2 separate regions of the Homo sapiens genome follow, and region 2 is linked to region 1. Evidence: promoter capture Hi-C in human tissues and cell types (Jung and others, 2019). All regions are on one chromosome and are shown on one strand. Each heading gives the region's core, a stretch centred on a gene start or on the middle of the fragment in contact. The rest is flanking DNA. Distances are from core to core; before and after follow the strand shown.

The links. Contacts are between HindIII fragments. The study calls those that stand out against the background at their distance.
Region 2: a contact is called between a fragment that was not itself captured here and the fragment with the promoter of PIWIL3 in region 1, in 2 of the 25 tissues and cell types used here (dorsolateral prefrontal cortex and mesendoderm cells).

Annotation. Positions count from the first base shown.
Region 1 is chr22:24,771,983-24,776,703 of GRCh38, forward strand. PIWIL3 (piwi like RNA-mediated gene silencing 3) reads right to left here and starts at 2,738. Exons shown (of 21, transcript NM_001255975.1): 1 at 2,340-2,738. The HindIII fragment of the contact is 9,839 bases long and covers 179-4,721 here.
Region 2 is chr22:25,329,064-25,334,071 of GRCh38, forward strand. No RefSeq gene overlaps it. Among named protein-coding and RNA genes, the nearest start is that of CRYBB2, 110 kb to the left of the region's middle. The HindIII fragment of the contact is 8,465 bases long and covers 1-5,008 here.

The DNA of each region.
Region 1 (4,721 bases), core at 1,488-3,987:
CTGTGCCCGGCCTATTTCTCTTAATGAACAAGCTATAGTGCTCAGTTGGCCAACAGAACTGTGTTGGTAGCCTACTCTTACTGGAATACATTCGATAACACAGTGTATATCATAAATGCACCAAACAGTAAGAATTATTATCATATCAAAAGCAGCAATTACAAAAGAAGCAGTGTTAAATTTTAAACAGAATGAAAGATTAAACCCTTAGATTTGATAATCATATTAATAAAGAGAAGTAAATCTTATCAATATAAGTATTAAGTACTAAGTAGTTGTATATTTCACAATGTAAGTAAATCTTATATTGAAGGAATAAAGTCTGCATAATAGGAGCTCATTAAATAGCAACTTCTATGAGCAACAGGACAATATTATGTCCCTGGCATTTGGACTTAGACAAAAACCTTTGTGGAATCATAGCCTGTCCAGGTATGTGCTGTGTGACCCTGAGCAGGTGATATCATCTCTCTGAGACCCTGTTTCCTAGTATGTTGGGTATTGAAAACTTATGTCACAGGGGCCTGTGGGGGTTACAGGAGCCAATCTGTGCAAAGAGCTCAGCAGGTGCTGAGTGCTCAGCAAGTTACAGCTACTGGAGTTAAAATCACTACCACAGTGGAGAAGAGCCCTGGCAAAGGCTGCAGTCTCCATTCTACCCACTGGGAAATCCGAACGGCTGACCAGCTCCCCTGTCTTTCCCAAACTAGGATCCCAGGAATTAGAAATGGTGGTGCTTAGGTGGGTGCACAGCAGCATCTAGTGGACTAGAAGGAGAACTGAAGAAGTGTCACAATGACATCGGGAAGAGAAAGTTTTAAGGCTGGGGAAAAGGTTGGCAGAGAAGTCAGGAAGGAGGCCTGCATGTGCCGGGTGTCCCCTGTGGGGAGATCAGATGAGGTACCTTAACAGTTATCTGGACCTCAAGCCCCCATGTGCTAGCTGAGGGCGTCCTTCTCCCTCCCCAGGCCTCCCTGGGTGCTGGGTCTCTGGGTCCTATGGGCTCAGGGGCCCATCTTTTTCAAGTTCTGCTCCACGTGTCTGTGTCCAGCTGAGGGCACTGACCCCACTGCCCCAGTCCCCAGGGCTTAGATGCCAGGACAGTAGAAAGCTGTGTGCCAGGGCATAACCAAGGTGTCCTCCACTGCTCTGGGCCACACATTGGCAGCTGGGCCCTGTGTCCCTCTGACACCGGATCCTAGGGTTTCTGGCTCTGCCATCTCTGCTGTGATGCTCCATTCCAACCATGTGGCTCAGCAGGGAGGGCATTACACACTGTCCCTTCCCCCTTTTCCATACTCCTGCCTTCCTGCATGCCCTGCACAGGAACCCTCTTCCCTTCTCCTTTTGCCAAAAGAATTCAGAAGATACCAACTTTCTCCTCTTTTCCTGTCTGCAGTGGAGGTCCCGGCAGGACCCCCTCCTGAGCTGTGAGGGTTAAATGGGAGAAGGTGTATTGAGCTTGAAGCACTGGCAGGTCCCACAACGAATGCTCAAAAAATGGAAGCCTCTGCCACCATCTGCATCATCCCCATCAACCACAGGAGCAAAGAGCCCGCCTTTTCTGAGAAGAGCATTTACATATTGATAGAAATTCCGCGGTTTTATTTATCATCACGTCAGTTTTAAGGATGTAAGTAGGTACACATATACATATGTATCTAAAATATATTAAGTTTTTAAAAGTAGGTTATTAAAGGATATGTACAAGACACTCTAGATTTTTTTTTTTTTTTTTTTTTTTTGAGATGGGAGTCTCACTCACTCTGTTGCCCAGGCTGGAGTACAGTGGTGCGATCTTGGCTCACTGCAACCTCCGCCTCCCAGGTTCAAGCAATCCTCCTGCCTCAGCCTCCCAAGTAGCTGGGACTACAGGCACCCGCCACTGCGCCCAGTTAATTTTGGTATTTTTCGTAGAGACGGGGTTTCACCATCTTGGCCAGGCTGGTCTTGAACTCCTGACCTCATGGTCCAGCCGCCTCAGCCTCCCAAAGTGCTGGGATTACAGGCATGAGCCACTGTGGCTGACCAAGATGCTCTAGATTTTTAAAATAAATATACATACTCCACATGCTCAAATATAAGCTGAATCTGTAACCCAGCAGCTTAGCAGCCTAACCTCAAACCGCATTTTAAAACTTTTTTTCCTTTCCCCTTTCCTCTCTTCTGCTAATCTGAAGATGTAACTTAGACAAAGTATAGACGTGTTTCCTCTCCTCTTGAAATCCAGCCTTGGAATGTGCTGTGAACCTCCACCCCCTTTCTTTTCCTGTTCTATGCCCCCATGCCTTATGCACATTTATTTACCTAGTTGTTTGGTAAGCACACACCATACTCACTTATCTGGTCACATATTTCCTTAGAAGCTTCAGTAGTCAGATCCTGATACGAACCATGCACCTCCTCCAGCCATGATGACGCCGGCCACTTCCACAGATGGAAAAATAATTCAGGACAAGCCACTGGAGGGGGTCACACCACCTGACACCTCCCAGTCCCCCTGCCTCTTTTGCCTTCCAAATCCTCCCTTTAAAAACCGCTTTGGCCGGGCGCGGTGGCTCACGCCTGTAATCCCAGCACTTTGGCAGGCTGAGGCGGGTAGATCATGAGGTCAGGAGATGGAGACCATCCTGGCTAACACAGTGAAACCCTATCTCTACTAAAAATACAAAAAATTAGCCGGGCGTGGTGGCGGGCACCTGTAGTCCCAGCTACTCGGGAGGCTGAGGCAGCAAAATGGCGTGAACCCGGGAGGCGGAGCTTGCAGTGAGCCGAGATCACGCCACTGCACTCCAGCCCGGGTGAAAGAGTGAGACTCTGTCTCAAAAAATAAACAAATAAATAAATATCTTAAAAAATAAAATAAAATAAATAAAAACCCCTGCGTTCATCCGAGCGCAGTGGCTCACGTCTGTAATCGCAGCACTTTGGGAGGTCAAGGCCGGAGGATCACGAGGTCAGGAGATGGAGACCATCCTGACTAACGCGGGGAAACCCCGTCTCTACTAAAAATACAAAAAATCAGCTGGGCATGGTGGCATGTGCCTGTAGTCCCAGCAACTCGGGAGGCTGAGGCAGGAGAATCGCTTGAACTCAGAAGGCGGAGGTTGCAGTGAGCTGAGATTGCGCCACTGCACTCCAGCCAGATTGGGCGACAGAGCAAGACACCGTCGCAAAAAACAAACAAAAAAAACCCCTGCGTTCTTTCCTCACGTGGAAGAGTGGAATTGCTCTCTGCTCTTGCCCTTGCTAGCATAGATTATAAAATTCTTTCTTTTTAAATCACATGTCATTATCATTTTGACTTCTTTCTACAAGCAGTGAGCAGCTGGGCCCTTTTGCTGGTTACAACATGAGTGACTGGGGCAAATACATCAATCAAGGTTTATCAAGCCAGATTTAGGTTGTTTCTGGGAAAAACACGAGCCAAACATGCACCTGTGGCTATTTTTCTGAAAAGGTTTTTCAGGAGATTTCCTATTTTTTTTAAGAAACTTTATTTTATTTTATTTTATTTATATCTCTATGTATTTATTGAGATGGAGTCTCGTTCTGTCGTCCAGGCTAGAGTGCAGTGATGTGATCTCTGCTCACTGCAGCCTTCGCCTCCCGGGTTCAGGCGATTCTCCTGACTCAGCCTCCTGAGTAGCTGGGATTACAGGTGCATGCCACCACACCAGGCTAATTTTTGTATTTTCAGTAGAGACGGGGTTTCATGATATTGGCCAGGCTGATCTCAAACTTCTGACCTCAAGTGATCCACCCACCTTGGGATTACAGGCGTGAGCCACCATGCCCAGTCGGGGATCAGAGTTTTTAAAAATGATTTGGTGGGTATGGGCTCAGGAAGTAGGGAGTGCTTATTGGTCGGGTTGGAGATGGAATCATGGGGGTGGAAGTGAGTTCTTGCTGATTTCTCTTCCTGGATGAGATCGCAGGACTGGTTGAGCCAGATTATCAGTCTGGGTGGTGTCATCTGCTGCATCGGAATTCAGGGTATGCAAAATATCTCAAGCACTGATCTTAAGTTTTGCAACGGAGATTTTATTCCCAGAAGCAACTTGGGGAGGTTCAGACTCTTGCGGCCAGAAGCTGCATGGCCCCTAAGCCGTAATCTCTCATCTTGTAGCTAATTTGTTAGTCCTACAAAGGCAGGACAGTTCCCCACGCAAGAAGCGTCTTTTTTTCAGGAAAGGACTATTATCAGTTTTGTTTCAGAATTTAAACTATAAACAATTCTTCCCCAAGACTAGTTTGGCCTATGCCCAGGAATGAACAAAGACAGCTTAGGCGTTAGAAGCAAGGTGTGGTCGGTTAGGTCTGATCTGTTTCACTGTCATAATTTTCTCAGTTATGAGTTTTGCAAAGGCCCTTTCAATGGGGTGACTATAGTAAGTTAATTTTCCTCCTCTTTCTTCTGGTTTACCCAAGGGCATGTGGAGTCATAGAACTGTCCAGCAGGCACTGAAAGTAAAAAGTCTGTGATAAACCACCTAAATTTCTAGCTAGGCTAGTGGGAAAGGGGTCTCCTGCACATCAAGGAGTAAGGGGATCATCCTTGGTTTGTTTTGTTTTTATCTCCCCAGTTGCAAAGCTGTCCTGCAGCCTCAGCAATGGCAGAGGGACCTAAAGCCCTGAGAAATCACTTGGCTCACTGGGCAGAGGAAAAGGAAAGAGACTTCTGCATCTGAAAAGTATAGGGGAAATCTCTTTTTGTTTCT
Region 2 (5,008 bases), core at 2,308-4,807, 560 kb after region 1:
TGTTGCAGTGAGCCGAGTTCGCGCCACTGCACTCCAGCTTGGTGACAGAGCAAAACTGCGTCGCAAAAAACAACAACAAAAAAGAATTTTGGTAGAATTTTTTTTTTTTTTTTTTAACCAGTGAAATCATATGAATGTAGTGTTTTTGGTTTTTCCTTCTTTTGAAAGATTATTAATCATTGCTTCAATTTCTAAAATAAATATAGGCCTATTCAGATGATCTATTTTTCCCCAGAAGACTTTTGGTCTTCTAAAATCGATAAAAAGGAATGAGCTCATTTCATCTATGTATCAAATTGTGGGCATAGATGTGTTCAGAATATTCCTTTATTATTTTTTGATTTAACTGCTCTTCAATTGATGCTATTAGTACATTGTAACATCTTTCTTTCCTTTGTGGTTAGCCAAGGTAGAGGTTTATCAATGGTACTGATCTCAAAGAACTGGCTTTTTGTTTTATTGATTTTCTCGGATGATTTTCTGTTTTCTATTCCATTGATTTCTGCAAGAATTGTTTTTTAAGCTTAGAGTATGAATTTAGATTTTTCTCATTATTGACACCGCGTCATGAATGTAGTTCACTGAATTCAATCTCACTGAAATGTACACTAAATAATTAAAATAATATGTATGCTTCACCATAATTTAAAAAGTAAAACACGATAGGTGATAAATGTAGTAGCAGGATATGTAAATCCACAGAATTAAATGGTCTTGTAACATTTTGAAAAATGAGGGGATTGGCCTGGACCTTCAAATGGGCAGGAGGTGTGAGGAGATGCTCTCACAGAACCATACAGTGCCTTTCTGTATTAATCAGTTCTTAACGCTAATATTTCACATTTCTCCTCCTCTCCTTTGCTTTCCTTCCACACCAAAGAGAATGGTCCAGCAGCAGCTCAGTCCATGCTTGTCAACCACCCACCTCCATAGACTTCAGCGCTGGTCCCCACATCCCCCAAGGCTCCTAGTGGGATTCCTGAGAAGCACCAATGCACTGACTATTACTCTATGTTCTCCTAGCTTCTGTTCTGGACCTGGAAGATATTGCGCTTGATATTGCGGAGGAGGTGTTATCTGAAATGGTGAGATGCATTCCTTCATCTGGAAGAGAATTTTTTTTTTTTCTGGGGCTTCTTCCCTTATTAATGAAATGAAGACATAAAAGTCTGACCATATACATAACAGATGACTAAGACAATTTTCTTGGTGGGGGGAATATCAAGTGAATATCATTTTTGATTGCCATTGTCAATCAAGCTTCAGTTGATCAAGCTTCAGTTGGTCATGGACTCTAGTGACCAGCCATGAGTTTATGAACAACTGAGGCCTAATTGATGATGACAGTAAAAAATGACAGCATTACCTACAAACTGTCTGGTAGTGAGCATATTTTTTAGTAGCAACTTTTTCTTCTTGAAAAATAATTTTGTATTTGCCAGCCAACATGGACTTGCAAATATTCCATGAAAACCCATTGCCCAAAATTCCTACCGTATGTATTTATTATTTTTAAAAAAAGCTTTATTGAGAAATAGTTGACATGCAAAACAATTCACCCATTTAAAGTGGGTGATTCAGTGTTTTTACTGTATTTACAGGGTTGTGCAACCATTGTACAATCTCATTTTAGAACGTTTTCATTCCTCCACGAAGAAACCCTGTATCCATTAGTGGTTACTCCTCTCTTTTTCCAACCCCCACACCTCTGGCGATAGGAAGCCACTCATCTACTTTCTATTGCTGTAGATTTGCCTACTCCGGCCGTTTCTTTTTTAACTTGTTTTTTTTTTTTTTTTTTTTAAGTTCTGAGATACATGTGCAGGATGTACAGGTTTGTTACATAGGTAAAAGTGTGCCATGGTGGTTTGCTGCACCTGTCAAACCATCACCTAGGTATTAAGCCCTGCATGCATTTGCTGTTTATCCAGATGCTCTCCCTTCCCCTGCCCCGACAGGCCCGAGTGTGTCTTGTTCTCTTCTCTAACACCGTATATATCCTAAGACCACTCCCTTGCTGATACAAATCTAAGTGATGGGTTGTGGGGGGCTCTATTCCCTGCTTTTGTCTGGAGAGCCTGCCTGGCCTCAGGTTCCTGATAGGAGTGAGGACCTGGAGTGCACTGTGAGAAACAGATGGCTCAGTGAAGAACTGTCATCATCCACTGGAGTCCCTGGAAACAGCCGTATCATTTAGATGGTGTGGGTTTGTGTGCATGAGGGTTGGGAGTTAGCTAGGGATGAATTAATGTGTAGTGATTGTGAATGTGTTTGTAAATGTGTGTTTTTCCCCTAAAATGTGGACCCGCATGCCCAGCACAGTGCAAGTGTCAGTTTTCTTGAATTCCTGGCCTATGGTGGTTCTCTCACCTCAGCCTCCCGAGTCATGTCATTCTTCTAATAAAAAGGAAGAAAAACTTCAACACCACCATACACTTTACATAAATGACCTCTTTACTCCCTCACCACAGCTGTACCTGAAGGTCAGTTTAATATCCCTACTCCTTATATGGAGAGAGTGCAGAAAGGAATGAACCCAGATTTTGACCTCCTGAATGGAAAAGGCAAAAGTGAACCCAGAAATGGGTCCCGATGTTGATGGTCTGTATTACTTAACTGTGTCAGCACTCAGGCTTGGTGATATGACCCTACACCAGGGAGTTCCAGCACCTATGTGTGCCCCTGGTAGTGGTAGTGGATGGCCTATAAGCGTGCCAAACATTGCCCATCATCAAATGGGGCCCCATTGGTCACATAACCCTGGGTAGCAAAAGGTACACGGAACAATAGACGTTGGCATGGACATTACTGTGAAATATACATAGAAAGCCCACAGGCTTCTGGTCAGCTCACAGATTCTGAGAAGTGTAAGGGATCACATGGAATAGTGCAGGTCAACATCTGTCAGTGCTGCGATCATTCCTTAGCACTTGGTCAAAGCAGGGAAGGATCAGGAAGATATTGCATTGTATTTAGTAACATGAGTACCTCAAGCCTTAGAAATGCTCCAATCCATGGCCGGGCACGGTGGGAGGCTGAGACAGCCGATCACCTGAGTCAGGAGTTTGAGACCAGCCTGGCCAACATGGTGAAAGCCTGTATTTTTATACAAAAAGTAGTCAGGCATGGTGGCACACACCTGTAATCCCAGCTACTTGGGAGGCTGAGGCTGGAGAATCACTTGAACCTGGGAGGTGGAGGTTGCAGTGAGCCAAGATCGAACCCCTGCACTGCAGTCTGAGTGGCAGAGTGAAACTCTGTCTCAAAAAAAAAAAAAAAAAAAAAAGCTCCAATCCATAGCAGACGGACAAGGGCCAGTGCCACATCAGAACTCAGAGGACATTGTTGTTAGCCTGGTGCCCATCAATCTCACTGGAGACCTCCTGCATCGCTACGTTAGTGAGGCTTAGCGCTCACCATGTACTGATCCCCATGATGGACTGTCCCACTGTCGGGGGCTGGTGTGAGCATGAGCAGCCACTGACTCAATGGACGCACACAGTGTAAAGAAACGGAAGACATGGGCTGGGCGCGGTGGCTCAAGCCTCTAATCCCAGCACTTTGGGAGGCCGAGGTGGGTGGATTGCCTGAGGTTAGGAGTTCAAGACCAGCCTGGCCGAGCTGGTGAAACCCCGTCTCAACTGCAAATACAAAAATTAGCTGGGTGTGGTGGTGGGCACCTGTAATGCCAGGTACTCAGGAGGCTGAGGCAGGAGAATCACTTGAACCCAGGAGGCAGAGGTAGCAGTGAGCCGAGATTGAGCCATTGCACTCCAGCCTGGGTGACTGGACGAGACTTCGTCTTAAAAAAAAAAAAAGAAAAAAGGAAGGGAAGAGCAGAGGAGAAATATCACAGTTAGTACTCATATCTCTTAGACCCCTTCTGAGTAGGAGTGAACAGGACCTGGCCTTCCTGTCTGCCGAAAGCATGGCATGGACATCATCCTAAATGCCTCAAGAATGGAGTTTCATTGCTTTCTCTTGTCTTCTCCATCTGTATGTGATGATGGCAGTGACACCAGCAGAAATTGGTTGGGGGGCAGAACAGGAATCAGGTCCCCACTTCTCTGACACGGAGCAGACAGGACACAAATCAGCAGGGATGGACTTCAGGGTCAGGACACAGGTCCCAGGCCTGATCTTCCTGGGGCTGGGACAGATGAGTTTTTCTTTTTCACCTCTTCTGGAAGTCACTTGAGGAATGGTCCTTGAGGAGACACTGTTGACCAAGGGTTGTCTGGCCCAGAAATGTGTTTTTGTTGTTTTGTTTGTTTGTTTGTTTTGAGACAGAGTCTCACTCTGTTGCCCAGGCTGGAGTGCAGTGGCAGGATCTGAACTCTCTGCAACCTCCACCTCCCAGGTTCAAGTGATTCTCCTGCCTCAGCCTGCTGAGTAGCTGGAATTACAGACGTGCACCACCATGCCCAGCTAATTTTTGTATTTATAGTAGAGATGGGGTTTCTCCATGTTGGCCAGGCTGGTCTTGAACTCCTTCAGATGATCCACCTGCCTCAGCCTCCCAAAGTGCTGGGATTACAGGCGTGAGCCACTGTGCCTGGCTGACGTGTTTCAACTGGACAGCGCCCCCTAGCACTGGGCCTGTAGCTGCAGCACTCCCGAGTAGCAGGGGAGGTGAGGAGGGACACGAGTGCCAGTGCACCATGAGCTCAGCAGAGGGATGGGGACTGATTCCAGAGTCCAGCTCATCCTTGCAACTCTTCTTAGAATCCAGAGTACATCAGTTTCCACTTATTTTATAGAAGGTTTGGAATCTTCAGTGTCAAAGTCTGTGTTGTGTCTTCCCACAGGGTGGATAGAGGAACCCTGGCTATGGGTGTTTTCTGCCAGGGCAGTGACTGTGTCTTCCTCATTAGTCCTTATCCCAGAGCTCAGTCCTGGGGCGAACATGTTAGGCCCCATGGGCATTGTAATGAACACATCCCTGGGATGAGTTCTAGGTCGCCTCTGGGGTGGGATCTAGCTTAGTTGTGGAAATGTTCCCTTCTCA